Regions from separate parts of the Homo sapiens genome. Here all the other regions are linked to region 2. The links are contacts of gene promoters, found by promoter capture Hi-C in human tissues and cell types (Jung and others, 2019). All regions are on one chromosome and are shown on one strand. Each heading gives the region's core, a stretch centred on a gene start or on the middle of the fragment in contact. The rest is flanking DNA. Distances are from core to core; before and after follow the strand shown. Region 1 overlaps OXR1 (oxidation resistance 1). Region 2 holds the start of ABRA (actin binding Rho activating protein). Region 3 has its middle 150 kb from the start of ABRA.

The links. The method cuts DNA at HindIII sites, captures the fragments that hold promoters and counts their contacts. A contact is called where the count stands out against the background at its distance.
Region 1: a fragment that was not itself captured here is called in contact with the fragment with the promoter of ABRA in region 2 in 1 of the 25 tissues and cell types used here (hippocampus).
Region 3: a fragment that was not itself captured here is called in contact with the fragment with the promoter of ABRA in region 2 in 1 of the 25 tissues and cell types used here (hippocampus).

The regions. Positions count from the first base shown.
Region 1 is chr8:106,603,627-106,607,425 of GRCh38, reverse strand. All of the region lies in intron 3 of OXR1 (oxidation resistance 1), which reads right to left. The region is part of intron 1 of OXR1-AS1 (OXR1 antisense RNA 1); the gene reads left to right. Among named protein-coding and RNA genes, the nearest start is that of OXR1-AS1, 52 kb to the left of the region's middle. The HindIII fragment of the contact is 6,770 bases long and covers 1-3,799 here.
Region 2 is chr8:106,768,269-106,772,012 of GRCh38, reverse strand. ABRA (actin binding Rho activating protein) reads left to right here and starts at 1,769. Exons shown (of 2, transcript NM_139166.5): 1 at 1,769-2,490. The coding sequence starts at 1,823. The HindIII fragment of the contact is 12,258 bases long and covers 1-3,744 here.
Region 3 is chr8:106,922,424-106,926,131 of GRCh38, reverse strand. No RefSeq gene overlaps it. Among named protein-coding and RNA genes, the nearest start is that of ABRA, 150 kb to the right of the region's middle. The HindIII fragment of the contact is 3,365 bases long and covers 503-3,708 here.

The sequences.
Region 1 (3,799 bases), core at 736-3,235, 160 kb after region 2:
CAAGAGGGCTATTGACTCCAAATGTTGACTTATGCATGGCAGAAAGAGTGATGCTGCCCTTGCAATCAGAGGGGAGGAAGGGATAACTTATGTCAAAAATGGTCATTTGAATTCTGGAGATGTTTTCAGAGGCACACAAAATATAAGGGGAAAGTTGCCTAGCTCACAGCTGGATTGTGGTGCTTTAAGCTCGACAGAATGGCTGGCATTCAAGTTCCGCTTCTGAGGAGTCAGCTACATGTAAATAAGTTGATACCCCAGCAGTAAAATATCTTCAAGAAGGGAAGAGGTATGGAGAGAGAAGAGGAAAGTTACAGACCATGTGTATTTAGGTCAGACATAACAACCCTGCTCTTTGTTTTTCAGCTTGGTAGGCAAAGTGCCAAAACTACTGTTTGTGAAAGGTGTTGAAATGAAGCATGCTAGGGCTCTACACCCATTTGGTTTCTGGGACATTGGTCAGTTGGCATTTTCTTAACTAAACAACAAAAACCATTCAGAGAAGGGCTCTTTCTTCCTTTGGGTTAAGAACAGCAAAAACTACCATTCCTGGTGTTTTTATTTAGTAGCAGGTACTCCAACAAGGTAGGCAGAATGATGACCCCCTAAAAAATATTCTTATATTGATCCCTGGAATCTGTGAATGCTACCTTACTTGGCAAAGAGAAATTAAGGACGCAGATGGAATTAAGGTTGCAGCTGACTGTGAGATGGGAAATTATACTGAATTATCCAGGTGGGCCCATTGTAATCAAAAAGGTCCAAGTGGAAGAGGGAAGCAAGAGCTATCATATGATATCAAGAGTATCATAGTGGCCAGGTGCAGTGGCTCATGCCTATAATCCTAGCACTTTGAGAGGCTGAAGCGGGCGGATCATTTGAGATCAGGAGTTTGGTACCAGCCTGACCAAAATGGTGAAACCCTGTTTCTAGTAAAAATACAAAAAAAAAAAAAAAATTAGCCAGGCATGATGGCACATGCCTGTAATCTCAGCTACTAATGAGGCTGAGGAAGGAAAATCACTTGGACTTGGGAGGTGGTGGTTGCAGTGATCCGAGATTACACCACTGCACTCCAGCCTGGGCAACAGAGTGGGACTCTGTCTCAATAAATAAATAAATAAATAAATAAATAAAGAGTATCATAGTGATATGCTCTAAGGAAGACTTGCTGGGACATTGCTGGCTTTGACGATGGTAGGTGGCCAAGAGCCAGGGAAAGTAGGGGGCCTCTAGAAGCTAGAAAAGGCAAGAAAATGGATTCTCCCACAGGGCCTCTAGAAAGGAGCACAGACCTACTGACACCTCGACTTTAGCCCCAGTGAGATGCATTTTGGACTTCAGAATGCTGGGACTTAATATAATAAATTTGTTTTAAGCCACTAACTTTTGCATGACTTGTCACAACTGCAATAGGAAACATAATACATCTGGTAAACACTTTGCATCCCATAGTGAGGTGGGATTATCATCCACATTTTATTATTATCATCCACATTTTATTGAAAATAAAAATAGAGACTTAGAGAAGTCATATGTTGTTTCAACCTAAGTAGGAAGTGGGAGATATCAGATTTGAGGTGTTTTTTGTGTTTCCTTTATTTTATTTTTTCTTTTTCTTTTTTTGGAGACAGGGTCTCCCTCTGTCACCCAGGCTGAAGTGCAGTGGCACCATCTCGGCTCACTGCAACCTCCACCTCCCGGGTTCATGTGATTCTCCCACCTCAGCCTCCTGAGTAGCTGGGATTACAGGCGCCCACCATGCCCGCCTAATTTTTTTTTTTTTTTTTTTTAGTAGAGACGGGGTTTCACCATATTGGTCAAGCTAGTCTGGAACTCCCGACCTCAGGTGATCCACCTGCCTCAGCCTCCAAAAGTGCTGGAATTACAGGTGTGAGCCACCATGCTAGGCCCAGATTTGAGGATTTTAGGAATGCCTTTGTTCTCACCATTAAATCCTAGCTATTTCTGGTCTGGCTTTTCCCCTACAGAATGTGGTTGGCTCAATTAAAGCAGGTCACCAGGCAACTCCAGGCTGAGTCTTGTTGGAGAATAAAGTAGAATATCTGTCCTGTACAAATAGACCTAAGACAGAAACCAGATTAGCATTGCAGAAAGTCAACCATACCCTATCTGTGTGTTTTAATTGCTAGAGTTTTGATTTGGATAATGTCTTTTTAAAAAATTTTAGCTTTCAAGTATAAAATATTACAGATTTTATCTTTATGAATTATACAGCAAACTCTTCTAAAAAAGCTTGGCTTTCCCAGTGGCATCTTGTCAGCCACATGTTTTCAGCACAAAGGAACGATTTTGCCCCAGTGCAAATTAAAAGTCCCAGGCTCTCACCTCCTTCAACTTGTAAGATTTTAAGAAATCTAAGTTGAAGAGAGCATTATGTAGCATCTGACCTATTAACTGCTTGTAATCTGAGGTGGCTTTTACCCAGGATGAATGACATCCTGAGTGACCTCAAATCTTTTGTGAAAAGAAATGTGTGAATCACAGGCATATACACGTGCCCAGGCCCACACAAACACACTTACAGGCTTTTGCACACAGATAAACAGCTTCAATCATTTCTGAAATGCTTCCTTCTTAGTATAACCTTCAGGCATATTACATAAACTTTTTGCAGACAACTCTAGGAGAACAAACAAGAAAAACTTATGTCACAATTATCGAAAGATAGGCTTCTTCCATGTTATTGCAAACAGCTGTACAACCATTTGTTAAGCATCTGTTTCCTAGAAACGTTTATTCAATAAAACTCTTCCTCTCTCCTTTTTGTCTCAAGTTTAAGGTCACGCTATCAAAATATGTTAGTAAAGAAACTCAGTTTTGTTACTGGATATATTGTCTGCATCTGTCAGAGTTCAAAAGCAGTGCTTTTTAATGCTGCAAGCTTTAATACCTATAGAATTTTACAAAAAGCTAAATATCCTATCTGGTTTGGAGGATATCAATAATACTGTATACGGGTGGCTCACACTTGTAATCCCAGCACTTTGGGAGGCCGAGGCGGGTGGATTACTTGAGGTCAGGAGTTTGAGACCAGCTTGGACAACATGGTGAAATCCTGTCTTTCCCTGTGAAAGCCAAGACCCCTGACTTCAAGCATCGTGGCTTATCCCTTCACCCATAGGAGTCATAATGCTTTTGACATTTTTGCCCCTGACACATTTTTAAAAGGTGTTTGAAAATATATTTAAAGATTAGTTAGGGGTTTCAAAAGTATACTTGGTTTGTGGCCAAGTGCTATGGCACACAGTTAATAGACGGTATACACCTGCTTTTTAAAAAGTTTTCCCATTTAATCCCTGCAAGTGTTCAGGTTTCTTCTGTTTTTTGTTTGTTTGTTTGTTTGTTTTTTGAGATGGAGTCTCACTCTGTTGCCCAGGCTGGAGTGCAGTGGCACTATCTCGGCTCACTGCAACAACCGCCTCCTGGGTTTAAGCGAGTCTCCTGCCTCAGCCTCCCGAGTAGCTGGGACTACAGGCATGCACCACCACGCCCAGCTAATTTTTATATTTTTAGTAGAGAGGGGGTTTCACCATGTTGGCTAGGCTGGTCTTGAACTGCTGACCTCAAGTGATCCACCCGCCTCAGCCTCCCAAATTACTGGGATTATAGGTGTGAGCCACTGTGCCCGGCCCTGTTCTTGATTTTTAAAGCAATTTTACAGACTTGCTTTCTAAGACATCTTAAAGTACTCTTTATTAAAATTTAAAGCTCTATTCAAACCTTTCTTTTTAAGGGAGAATTACACGTTCCATATTAAAAGTTTTGGCAATATAGA
Region 2 (3,744 bases), core at 520-3,019:
GAATGAAAAAAAATTCCGTCTTACTTTAAGAAATTATTCATTGCTGAGCCCTGGACATTTTTATCTGGTTTAATACACTGCATAGATGTTTCTCTTTCTGTCCACATGCTTGTCTTTCCAGTCCTTTTAAAAAAATATTATATTTCAGTCCCTCTTGTGAGAGTTGAAAAACTGTCTTTGCCTACATGAACATAAAGTCCTGCTAAGGAAGATTGTGTTACTAAAAACAAAAGGGGCCAGACGTGGGGGCTCACATCTGTCATCCCAGCACTTTGGGAGGCCAAGGTGGGAAGACTGCACAAGCTCAGGAGTTTGAGACCAGCCTGGGCAACATAGCGAGACTCCGTCTATATAAAACAAAAACAAAAACAATTAGCTAGGCATGGTGGCTCATGCTTGTATTCCCAGCTGCTTGGGAGACTGAGGCAGGAGGACTGATTGAGCACAGGAGGTCAAGGCTGCAGTGAGCCATCATCACACCACTGCACTCCAGCCTGGGGACACAGCAAGACCTTATCTCAAAAAACAAAACAAAACAACAACCACAAACCAAACGGTAAGGGTAGGCGGGATGGGGATAAGAAGTGAGCTACCGATAGCTTTCATTTATTCTGTCCTTAGAATTCTGTCCTTAGATGATCTTTTCAAACAAAGTATTTCAAAATATGTATTCCAACAATAATTTCTTTCTTTCTTTCTTTCTTTTTTTTGAGACGGAGTCTCGCTCGTCACCCAGGCTGGAGTGCAGTGGCTCGATCTCCGCTCACTGCAAGCTCCGCCTCCCGGGTTCACAGGATTCTTCTGCCTCAGCCTCCCGAGTAGCTGGGACTACAGGCGCCCGCCACTACGCCCGGCTAATTTTTTGTATTTTTAGTAGAGACGGGGTTTCACCATGTTAGCCAGGATGGTCTCGATCTCCTGACCTCGTGATCTGCCCGCCTCGGCCTCCCAAAGTGCTGGGATTACAGGCGTGAGCCACCTCGCCCGGCCTCCAATAATAATTTCTAAAATCCAATGTGTATACAGGTTTTAAAAACATTTTTTAATGATTGGACCAAAATTTTGACTCCCTTTTTGTATTTTAATATGAGTTATCTATACAATAGTTCAAAGTTGGGACTAGAAAGTAATTAGTCTTTGACTATCTGGACTTTGGTCTTTCTCGTATCTGGGCTTCAATTTTCTCATTTGGAAAATGAAGATTGGATGAGTTGATTTTCTAAGGTCTATTTCTAATGGAGTTGAATGAAAAAGAAAAAGGCAACTTAGGATCTTTGATAACTGGAATAAAAGGAGGCACACGCTTTGAATTACACAGAGATGGATTTGAATCTCATATTTTATTAGCTGCTGGAAGTTAGATTTTATTTTACTTAGCTATAAAGTGGAACTAATTAGGAGCTGTACTGAGGGCTGCTGGGGTTTAAGTGGGAACAATCCTATAATGTTCCCAGGATAATATGTATGCACCTATAAATGGTAGGACCATATTAAGGTCAGACAAACGTAAGGCTGAGCACATGACTTGATCTAGTAATTTCCACTCTGGCACTTGGAGAAGAGAGTGAGCATATCACTGTTCCTTACCAGCAGAGATGTCCCTCTGCCGTGATGAAACTGGAGCTGTCATGATTTATAAAAAGAACACCATCAGGGCAAAGGCGCCACATCTTGGCAAGAAATGCTTCACATAGTTTCCATCGTCACTAAGCTCTCCTTCCCACCCCGCACCCTGCTTCTATTTAAATCCCAGGCACTCCACTGGACCACACTCATTTTAGCCAGTGTCCAGGCTATCAGCAGAGAAAGACAGGTGGGCAGCATGGCTCCGGGCGAAAAGGAAAGCGGGGAGGGCCCAGCCAAGAGCGCCCTCCGGAAGATACGCACAGCCACCCTGGTCATCAGCTTGGCCCGAGGTTGGCAGCAGTGGGCGAATGAGAACAGCATCAGGCAGGCCCAGGAGCCTACAGGCTGGCTGCCGGGAGGGACCCAGGACTCACCTCAAGCTCCTAAACCAATCACACCCCCTACTTCACACCAGAAAGCTCAGAGTGCCCCAAAGTCGCCACCCCGCCTGCCAGAAGGACATGGAGATGGACAAAGCTCAGAGAAAGCCCCTGAGGTTTCTCACATCAAAAAGAAAGAGGTGTCCAAAACGGTGGTCAGCAAGACTTATGAGAGAGGAGGGGACGTGAGCCACCTCAGCCACAGGTACGAGAGGGATGCTGGTGTGCTTGAACCTGGGCAGCCAGAGAATGACATTGACAGAATCCTCCACAGCCACGGCTCCCCAACGCGGAGGAGAAAATGTGCCAACCTGGTGTCTGAGCTAACCAAGGGCTGGAGAGTGATGGAGCAGGAGGAGCCCACATGGAGGAGTGACAGCGTAGACACAGAGGACAGCGGCTATGGAGGAGAGGCTGAGGAGAGGCCCGAGCAGGATGGAGTGCAGGTGGCTGTGGTCAGGATCAAGCGCCCCTTGCCCTCCCAGTAAGTGAATGCATTCTCCCACTCCTTGTGTCAGGATCACTATTGAGCCCCAACCAAGTCTGGGAATCCAGGCAGCAGATGAAGTCCTGCCAGGGTTAGAGTGAGAATCTCAAAGACTGGACAGGCAGTGAGTACTGTAGAGGAGGGATGTCCCTGGGCTGAAGGTCAGTGCCAACCTTAGACATGGACCTTTTGGTCAGGGCCTGCGCTATTTTGTTTCTCGTTTTTGTTTTGAACTGAACACTCAAGTCTTAGCCTCAACAAAGATGAAGCCATCAGAGAGGGAAGCCTGTTTTTCGTGAATTCTTTAAGTCAGTTCTATAATGAGTAACAAATTGGCTTATTTCTTTAGAGATAAGAGTGGTTTCTGATAGACTCATTGGGGAAACTTTTACCTTGTCCCAAATGTCTATGCTATTATCAGGAGATACGTCTGCTTCAATAACACCCATGGAATACAAATCTCTGACTCTAAACAGGTGGAGGCTGCTGTCTAATTTGAAAGCAGGCTCTGAATGAAGTCAGACAGACCCAAGTTCAAATCCTAGTTCTGCCCCTAACTAGTCATTTTTAAAGGTGATTTCATCAGCTGGGCGCAGTGGCTCAGCCTGTAATCTCAGCACTTTGGGAGGCTGAGGAGGGCGGATCACTTGAGGCCAGGAGTTTGAGACCAGCCTGACCAACATTGGTGAAACCCCATATCTACCAAAAAACACACAAAAATAGCTAGGCACAGTGTTGTGCATCTGTAATCCCAGCTACCCGGGAGGCTGAGGCATGAGAATGGCTTTAACCCATGAGGCTGATGTCGGAGTGAGCCAAGATCATGCCACTGTACTCCAGCCTGGGCAACACAGCAAGACTCTGTTTCACATAAAAATTAAAAAAAGCAGATTTCCTCATTTGTAAAATGACAGCAACAGTAAGCTTTTGGGAGAAGTTCTATTGTATTGGGAAACGTAAATGAGATTAGGGCTACCAAACACAGAGCTTGTCACATATGCTCAATACACGAAAACTATTATTATTCACATAGATTTGGTTACTTTGCAACTTTTCAAATTTTCAAAAACAGTTTGTCCTATTTGTAAACAAATACAGCAATAATTAAAATATCTAGATGGTAAATACACATACATACACTCACATACACATTTACTCAAACTGAAACATGTATATAGACAAGAAACACGTGCTTTATTTCAAGACAGTAACTCCACATGGTAGAAAGTCAGGATTTCTTATTCCACAATG
Region 3 (3,708 bases), core at 936-3,435, 150 kb before region 2:
TGGAAAAAAAAAATCTTTGGGACCTTAGAATCAAAATTCTGCAGAAGGCTCAGCTCAACCATTCCTCCAAAAGTACTTGGCCTAAGCATAACCAAGACAGGAGACAAAGAGCCTTAGATCAAGAACCTGTCCAATTCTTTCTCCATGTCAGCTTGCAGGAGGGAAATAAACTTGACATAAAAAATTACCCCAGTGCTGCTCTCCCAATAGGATGCTGACATTTCCCCACATTGCCCATAACATTCTTATGGCAGCCACATAAAACACTAGAACAAAATGTTCTGAAGATCAAACTAGCTAGGCTTGCTGACATTGTGTTATTGTGTATGCATATGAGTGCATGTGTGTGTATTATTAAGGTATTGTTTAACCTAAAGCAAATTTAAATCCATAAAATCAAGGCAAAGCACCACAAACAGCTAAAATTGGAAGTAGAATTTGCCATAATCATCATCTTCAGAATTCTCCAGCTTGGAATATGTTGTTTATTAGTTTGTTTAAATTACAAACAAATTCTATCTGAGCAGGTGCTAGAGAAAGAGGCTCAGCTACTTACAGTGTGGCTATTCTCAGATTTCAAGGGCCCTAAACACATGCACAACCTAAGCAGAGAAGAATTCATCACCATTACTGCTCCAACCCACTAATATGAATCATGTAAATTGGAAGGTAATCAGAACTTTTTCTCCAGCCATTAATGGGATAAACGCATGTGCTGAATTGCCCGAAGAGACGAATGAACATACAGCATGAGAAATGTTAGAACACTTTAGTCCCAAATTTATGCTTCCCTGTGTATCCATCCATTCCTGAAGCGAGATGTCAAGACAAACATGTCAATCTTTCTTGGAAGCAGCAGCCAGCAGCACTGTGAGCATCCAGTAGTCTAATCTGTTCAAACTGACCATGAAACAAAGCCTCTGGGGCTTCTCCCAGGCCCATGTCCTAAGCCAGTCTCCTCTCCATTAGTGATCACATTTCCCCCATCTGTGAAATCGAAAAAACCTGTCATTTTGCTCTGCGAGAATGAGATGATGATTAATTATTTACTATCTGTCAAAGGAGCATCAACTACTCTGGGGAAAATATCCAAAACTGTTATGAATAGTAATATACAGAAAAGTACCCTCCTGCTTTTTTCTTTCTTGGCCAGTTGGCAGCTACTGAAAGATTAAGGGCTTCAGGAAATATTGCCCCAAAGCCCCAGCATTCCAAAGATGTACAGTCACAGCACAAAATATTTCATCTGGTTTTTGGTGTGAATACAAATTCTATCTTATTCTCTTTCTCTCCGAAAGACCCAATGAATGATGGATCCTTTGTCTCTAGAAATAGAACATCCCCAAGTGTGTCAAGCAGTTATTTAGGCATGGTTTTTAGAAATCGTAGAGAAACCTTTTAATAGCTTCAGAGTGTTTATTAAACTTCCCACCATCAGTAAGCTTAGATTCTCATGGGCATAGAATGCTTCAGGAGAATAAGTTGGAGATAGGAGTATGCCCCATGACTGCTAAATGACCTCTCCTCTTTTACAGTCTGACACCTGCTGTATTAGTGTGATACACAGTGTGGAAGGCTCACAGGGCTTAGACAGAGGCTGTTTGAACTGCTTTATGTGTGACCACAGACTCCAAAAGACACACTGCCTCACCTACTCAATTCATGTTTAAATCTGGGTTTCTTTTTTTTAAAGAAAAGTTTAGGTTCACAGGAAAATTGAGCAGAAAGTATAGAGTCCCCATATACCCCTGTCTTCACCTGCCCCCTGCCCTCCCCTCCACACACACAGTATTCCTCACTATCAACATCTCCACCAGAGTAGTATAGTTGTTACAGTCAGTGAACCTACACTGATGTCATTATATCCAAAGTCTTTCATTAACCTTAGGTTTCACTCTCGATCTTATACATTCTGTACGTTTAGATAAATGTATAATGACATGTACTCCCCAGTATAGTATGAGAATACTTTCACTGCCCTAAAAATCCCCTAGAAAGAAATCTCCCTGTTCATCCTCACTAACCCCTGCCAACCACTGATTGTTTTCGTGTCTCTAGGGTTTTGCCTTTTCCAGAACATCTCATAGTTGGAGTCATACAGTATGTTGCTTTTTCAGATTGGCTTCTCCTGAAGTGAGATGTCAAGTAAGATTCTTTTAATGTTCTTCTATTTCTCTTCATGGCCTGATAGTTTATTTATTTTTAGTGCTGAGTAATATGCCATTGTCTAGATGTCCCACATTTATCCATTCACCTACTGAAGGACATTTTGGTTGCTTCCAAGTTTTGGCAACTATCAATAAAACTGCTATAAACATCCATGTGCGGGTTTTGGGTAGACATGAGTTTTAACTTATAAGTACCAAGGAGTGTGATTGCTGGATTGTATGGTAAGACTATGTTAAGAAACTGCCACACTGTCTTCCAAAATAGCCCTCATTTCTTTCTTTATCCGGGGGAAAATTGTCTTGGGGCTCCAAATTTCTCCTGTTTATTACACCATCATACTCAAAGAATGCCTCTAAACAGAGGCAGGCCTCTGGCTGGGACACTTCTAATATGCTTTGGCTCTGTCTCCACCCAAATCTCATGCCAAAATGTAATTCCCAATGTTGAGGGAGAAACCTGCTGGAAGGTGACTGGATTATGAGGGTGGATTTTCCCTTTGCTGTTTCTCATGATAGTGAGTTCTCATGACATCTGGTTGTTCCCCATGGTTCTCTCTCCTGCTCCGCATGTGAAGAAGGTACTTGCTTTCCCTTTGCCCTTCTGCCGTGATTGTAAGTTTCCTGAGGCCTCCCAACCATGCTTTCTGTATAGCCTGTGGAATTGTGAGTCAATTAAACCTCCTTTCTTTGTAAATTACCTAGTCTCACCTAGTTCTCTATAGTAGTGTGAGAACAGACCAATACAATTTCCAATTCCTTCCTTCCTTATCCCATCTCTGAGCAAGGTCTCTGGAAGAAGATGCCAGCAATGAACCATGCACCACTAATTAGGTGGTCAAAAATCATATCCAGAAGCTTCCATCATCTGTTTCATGTCAAGAAGAAGCCACATCCCAATCACAGTTCAGTCCGTGTGTTGTATTTACTGGCAGGAGTTTTTCCTATACCCAAACCAACCTTTCAGAGGTTAAGATTTGCAAAAATTCTTCATCAATTTGCCTGTTGGGCTGTCAGGTAACTCACCCATTAGTGGCTGCTTATCGTCCATCAAGCTCTTCAGGATTTTCTCAGTTTGAGAAACACATTGCTGTCATCAGCTACATTGAAGGGTCTGGAGCTAGAAAAAATCTCCAGTTCACTATCTATGGATGCAAGCTTCCCTATGTTCACAAATTCTTAATTGAATAAATAAATAGATGAACAGAGTCACTCTGCATCATCACCCACAACGCACAGATGTGGATATGTCTTCCCTTTAGAGTGGATACACATGCATTCTCTTATGCACTCCAAGAAGCTCCACTGAGCCTGACAGGCTCACGAACAAGGACAAAGTAATAAATTATTGTCACTTAGACCTGCCCAAGATTCTGTTAAACACAAATCATTGCCAGAAAATGTCAACATGTTAATTCCACAGTCTAAAGAGATAAAGTAGTAAACCTGGGAGTATTCACAGTAATAATACACTGTAGGTTATAATGTCCACATCATAATTAAATGGCCCCTGATTATCCACAAACAAAGCAAGCTATAACTC